2 separate regions of the Homo sapiens genome follow, and region 2 is linked to region 1. The links are contacts of gene promoters, found by promoter capture Hi-C in blood cells and fetal thymus (Javierre and others, 2016). All regions are on one chromosome and are shown on one strand. Each heading gives the region's core, a stretch centred on a gene start or on the middle of the fragment in contact. The rest is flanking DNA. Distances are from core to core; before and after follow the strand shown.

Region 1 (3,210 bases), core at 661-3,160:
GTGAAATCACCAGGGACCCACAGATAATCCACAGTTCCGTAATGCAGAATGGATCTTCAGTCTTACTGGGCATCAACTTTCCATCCTCTGCACTAAAGATGATGGTCCCTGGTAAAACAACAGGAAACATTAAAAATTAAAGGCATTAAAAGAAGTGATAACACTGTTTCAGCTAGTCTACAATTTTCAATTAATAAACATTGAGACTTGCCTCAACACTTTAAAAGTGGGAAGAACTAATTCTCTCTATGAGCTTCATAACTCGATTTTTGTCAAACCAGCTCAAAGCTTTTTCATGTCTTTATCTTCCGTAAATATTTCCAAATTAACTCTGACAGCTATTTACTTAAAGAAACGCCCGATTTTTATTTGACAGGCCAATGAATTCATTCTATATATTATATACTCACATTAAAAGTAATGTAGCACTTTCACTGGGCAATAAACAATTAAAATAAAATGAACCATGCCATGATTTCCATTTTTTGGCTTGCAAGTTCATGCTCATAGTTTGTTGCAACTTTTCTATGTCCCTTTAAGGGTGCATTAACTCTCTGCATGAGCCAAACAAACTAATTAGGATAATTTTTCACAATTGCAGAGTACCATAAATTTAACAAGCATTATGGTCTGCGGAGGCACCCACAGTACAGAACTATTACCAGACACTCTTTGTACTCATTCAGCAGCATTTCAGAATTTCTTTAGTCTTAACATCTTCTAGTGTAAAAGAATGCCTGTGTATGACTTATTTTGAGTCTGCAGTTTTGATTCATTGATTCCAACAGTTCTATTGCAATCATTTCTCCCACTGAATGATTGTCTAATTTGAACAGCAATCCATACTTCCCAGTATGCTACATCAAACCCCAGTCATCCAAATGGTTCCAGGGGCATCTACTTCCACCCCAGCCTTTCAAAAAGAGTTCCTTAACCATTTCTCACACTTTCCATAAAGAAATGAATACAGAAGCACAGAGCCCATCCACCCTAGAATTCCACCCCCAGGACCCCTAACTCCAGCTTTCAGGGTCCATAGCAAATTTCCCCCTTTCTTCACCTCGCCCCTACCCGTTTTTTTCTCTAACCACCGCCCATTTTCAGTTCTGGATGTCACTCAAACGGGAGGTCGGCTACTACTTTTTTTTCTAATCTTGTCAACTGCAGTCAGGGCTGAAGTTGATCTATCTGGGCCACGAGGCTGGGGAAGACCAGCAGGGGGTGGCCTGCGGGCAGGGGGCCCCCATCTCCAACTGCGGTGAGGCGCCCTCGCCAAGACAAGCCCATATTTAGCCCCCTGCCATTGCCTCACCGAGCCACTCCACCCATGGAGACACACAATGATCCCTCCATTCTAAAAGGGGGCAAGAGGCATTTTCCAGCCGGCTCTGGACGAAGGGAGGGGATAAGGATGGGAAGGCAGCACCCCCCGGAGGCAGACGCCAAGAGCGGACGCGGCTGGCAGGCAGAGCCGACGGATCCGCCGAGCTCAGGAAGTCCGGAGCCCGGGAGCAGCCCAACTCCGGCTCCGGGGCAGAGAGGGAGCCCGGGAGAAAGCAGCGGAGCCCACGCCCACGGGGCAGCCGAGTGATTTACTTACATGGCTGGCGGGCGGCGGCCACCTTCCCTCCCGCGTCCCGGGCGCACACACAACTTGCTGTCTTTCTCGGGCGGGAACATCCACGGGAAACCGGACCGTCCTGCCCTTCTTTGCCTCTGTCCCTAACAGCCGCAGAACCCCGGGGCCCGACCTGGAAGAGCAGGGGTTGGCAGGAGGCGGAGGGTCTCCAGAAGCGGGCTGGCACCAGCGGAGACCCCCACTCCCGGCGAGTCCGCGGCGGCAGCTCTGGCGGAGCGCTGTGGGCGCGCGCGGGCGCCGGGGATCGCACGCAGAGGAGCGGATCTCCCTTTGGCAGGCGAGGCACGCACCGCCTCCTCCCCTCCGCTGCCCGGCCCTCCTCTTTCTCCAGTCCCCTCCCCTCGCGCCCCGGGGAACTCCGCGCAGACAGACCCAGGACGCACCGGGGACGTTCCTGGAGCGCCGGGAAGGGAGTGGGGGGGTGCCCCGCTGTCCGCGCGGGTCCAGGCCCACCCCCGGGGGCAGCTTTCGCGGCTCCTCCCCTAGCCCCGAGCCCCCTCGCGCCCCCTCTCCCTGCGTCTCATTCAAAGCTGAGTGGGGAAGGCAGACAGACCGAGAAGTATGGGAGAAAGTTGCTTGTCTTCCTGGGTGACCCCGAGGAGCCACGGAAGATGACACACTTTGCCTGTTGGGGCTTTTCTGGGTTTACTGTTCGGGTTTATGCTCCTGTTTTCCTGCCGCCGTTAAAAGAAGCCGTAGACGGGAAAGAGGGCCTTAAAGAGTGGGTAAAGTGGCCCCTTTGAGATTTGAGGAGGCTTTTGAGAAGTGGTCACTTTGGAAGGCGGTGAATGAGGCGGTTGTGGACGTGGGAATTAAAGCACAGCAGACAGCCCAAGGCTCATGTATGGCATGGGGGCAGCTGCCTTTCCAGACGAGCCAGGGAGAAGGCAGGGGCGGACCTCTAGCGAGCCTCTCCCAAGAGATACACTCTTTCAAAGGTCTCTCTCTCTCTCTCTTGCTGTTTCTCTGTCTCTCTCTCCCTCCCTCCCTCCCTTTCCCTTCACTTCCTCCCTCCCTTCTCCTCCATCCTGCCTCCTGATCAATTTTGCAATTTATTCCATCGTTTGATTTCTTTTCTGAGAAACAACTGATTTTTAGTTCCCCTCTGGACTTGAGGACTTTTTCCACTTGTCATTAGCACTAACCCCTTTAGAAGTTTAGAGCTAGATTCAGTAGATGACTGTGGGAGTCTCTGCTGAACACAGTATTTTAAGAAGTATGCCATCTGGGAACAGCAGTTTTTGAAGTAGACAGTTTCCCAGATATAGTTTTTGTGAGGTGTCTTTTTAGAGGAGTTGAAAGTAATAAATTGGTAGGTATATATTTCATAGCAGATTTTCAGACTGCACCATTTTAATTAGCCGTGATGGTGTACATTTTTCCCACAACGACAGCTGGAGATATGTGTTCTTTTATTATTATTTTGAAAGACCTTAAGTGATTGATTCCAAGCCTTTTGAGGTCACAGGTCTTTTAAAAAATACGATGAAACTGATAAGCCTTCCAGAAAAAAAAATGCGCGGACATATAAAGCTTTACCACAGCGATTCTGAAGAAGGAAAGGGATATTT
Region 2 (3,038 bases), core at 506-3,005, 610 kb before region 1:
AGTTGCAAGGGCAAACTTAGTCCACAGATCTCAGAGAATGGTCCACACTGTATCTCTCCTAAAAAACTACAAAAGCACAGGAAATCAGACATTGCAAATATATCAGCCCCATTTTGTTCATTCTGTGATAGTGCCAGTTTTTCATATTCAAATATCGAAACCAAGAAAACTCATGAGTACTTTCAAGAATCTCACTGATGATACAGCTTCAGTCATGCCATCTACCCAGTTGATGTCTTCACCTGTTAAAATGGAAACTAAATGTCTCATGAAGGATAAATAAGGGGACTCTTGAGATCTCCCGCTTGCATTTCCAGATGATATTTACTGCCTTCAAGCTTTTCATGCCTACTTCAAAAGAAAAGTTTCTTTTCCAATTCAGGTAAATGTCTCTAAATGTATACTTTTTCTTTTTTCTTTCTTTATTCCATTTTTTTTTCTTTGTTAGGCAGGGTCTCACTCTGTCACCCAGGCTGGAGTACAGTGGTGCAATCTCAGCTCACTGAAGCCTAAACCTCCTGGGCTCAAGCAATCCTCCCACCTCAACCTCCCACTTAGCCACAGGCATGTGCCACCACACCTGGCTAAATTTTGTATTTTTTGTAGAGATGAGTTTTTGCCATTTTGCCCAGGCTGGTCTCGAACTCCTGAGCTCAAGTGATCTGCCTGCCTTGGCCTTCCAAAGTGCTGCGATTACAGGGCATGCACCAGTGCATGCAGCCTAGTTTTTTCTTTTATGTATTAGTAATGCCAAACGTGTTCTCTATTTCTAACATGTACTATGGCTTTTTTGGCAACATAAGGTACAGAGCACAGGTTAGGTCATACACACACGCACACTCACACCATCATCACACACACACACACGCACACCATCATCATAATCACTTTCTGAACAACTTTTTAAACTTTCCAATGCTCAGTTTTCTCATTTGTAAAATGAGATTCTAAGAGGATCTACCTCAGAATTATTGTAAAATTGAAAGAGATAATGCAAGCAAAATGCTTTGTAACACATAATAGTCATTAGTATTAATGATAGTAGTTGGTACTTATAAGCTAAGTTTTTTTTCTCAACTTCTCTCCATTTATCAAACAGGATACAGCTCAAACCAACTTTTCTTTTTAATCTCAGCATCATCAGAAAATGTTTGAAGTTGGAGAAAAGTCAGCCTCTTCAACATATCTTTGTTATTTAATACAAAAAGAAGAAATACAAAGATAAACACCAATTCTATCTAAAATTGAATGAAAAATAAAGCAAGTTATAGACTGCTGTTCAAGAAGCAAATGAAATCAGCATAAGCAATGAATTCAAAATCCTGAGAAGGATTTCATACAGAAAGAAGAAATTCAAAGATAAACACCAACTTTATCTAAAATTGAAGGAAAAATAAAGCAAGTTATAGACTGCCGTTCAAGAAGCAAATGAAATCAGCATAAGCAATGAATTCAAAATCCTGGGCTATAAATGAAATTGAGGCCGATTTCTGCAAATATATCTCATACTTACTCTATACCTGTCTATAATGCTACAACTCCTGCTTTGCCATATATGTAAAAAACAAGCCTAAGACAGGAAAAAGGAACTTACCCACGAAATTCTCTTTATCTTGCTTCTCAGGTGAAGACACCCTAGAATCCATCTCATTCTTGAGAAGCTTTTATACTTGGCAATTTTTCATGGGTTTGGAGCTAAGTGTGAAGAACAGGCAGCAACTCAGATGTGCTTGGGAGAGGGGAGAGGAGAAAGTATGAGAGAGTGAAAGACATTCCTTCTCTTTAGTGAACTCCCTAAGGGGTAGTTACCCTGGTGAGGGAAGCCTGATAACATAAACAAAAAGATTTCTTTTATGAGTTCAGACTGCCTTTGTTCACAGAAAAAACTTGAAAGAATATGACCATCTGGTGGTATTGCTTCCTGTAAAATATTGCTGTGTAATTTTCTATAGCATTTATATTTCATAAAACACTTCTATGCACCTTGTATAAATCTTGTGTGATCACTGATTACACAATGACCTGTTCAATACACAGGGCAAGTGTATCCATCCTTATGTTTCAGATGAGAAAATTTAACCCAACTCATTCTAACACTGCAGTGAGTGAGCTTTTGAAACTCAAATCTGATCATGTCTTCATCCTGCTTAAAATAATCAAAAAATTGCCAACTGTCAATATTGTAAAGACCAAACTCCTAAGTGTCCTACAAGACCCTGCTGGCCTGCCCCTTCCTCCCTTTCCAGCCTCACTCATGTGTCTCTCCGTGAAGCAGCTCCATTGGTCTCCTATCAGTGCCTCCAAAGCTTGATATGTCTTCTCGCCACCGGATCTTTGCACGTGTTATCATATGCATAATTTTTTGGCTTGTGTCTGTTTCTTCTTCTAGACCAAGAATTGACAAACTTTAGCTTGCCAGCTAAATTTAATTTACCACTTGTTTTTAAAACATAAAGTGTTATTGGAACACAGTATGTCCTTTTGTTGCTTTCTTTTTTTTTTTTTTTTTTTTGAGATAGGATTTCACTCTGTTGCCCAGGCTGGAGTGCAGTGGCACAATCACAGCTCACTGCAATCTCGACCTGCCAGGCTCAAGCAATCTTCCTACCTCAGCCTCTTCAACAGCTGGGACTCCAGGTGCACACCACCATACCTGGCTAATTTTTAATTTTTTTTTTTTTTAGAGATGGGGCCTCACTATATTGCCCAGGCTGGTCTCAAACTCTGGGCTCAAATGATCCTTCAGCCTTGGTCTCCCAAACTGCTGGGATTGTAGATATGAGCCACCATGCCCAGCTCTTTCATTTTTGTATTGTCTGTGCTCACTTTTGCACTGCACCCGTGGATTTGAGTAGTTGTGACACAGACCATACAAGCTGTAAGGCCTAAAATATTTACTGTTTGTCCCTTCACAAAAAAAGTTTGCTGACCCCTGCCTTGCACTATACATTTCCATGAGGAGAGTGACTTGGTCTAACATTTCCATTGCATCTGCAACAATTAGAACAACGTGGGCACATGATTGATGTTCAACAATA

The links. The method cuts DNA at HindIII sites, captures the fragments that hold promoters and counts their contacts. A CHiCAGO score of 5 or more calls a contact.
Region 2: the fragment with the promoter of STOML3 here is called in contact with the fragment with the promoter of LHFPL6 in region 1 in 2 of 17 cell types (activated CD4 T cells and non-activated CD4 T cells); the score reaches 5.7 in activated CD4 T cells.

The regions. Positions count from the first base shown.
Region 1 is chr13:39,601,283-39,604,492 of GRCh38, forward strand. LHFPL6 (LHFPL tetraspan subfamily member 6) reads right to left here and starts at 1,911. Exons shown (of 4, transcript NM_005780.3): 1 at 1,601-1,911; 2 at 1-108. It overlaps LOC112268119 (protein SPT2 homolog), which reads left to right and starts at 42. Exons shown (of 4, transcript XM_035861111.2): 1 at 42-111; 2 at 1,168-1,258; 3 at 1,362-2,360. The coding sequence starts at 42. RefSeq lists a silencer at 1,806-2,105. The HindIII fragment of the contact is 2,884 bases long and covers 287-3,170 here.
Region 2 is chr13:38,989,076-38,992,113 of GRCh38, forward strand. It overlaps STOML3 (stomatin like 3), which reads right to left and starts at 1,756. Exons shown (of 7, transcript NM_145286.3): 1 at 1,595-1,756. The coding sequence starts at 1,646. The HindIII fragment of the contact is 645 bases long and covers 1,660-2,304 here.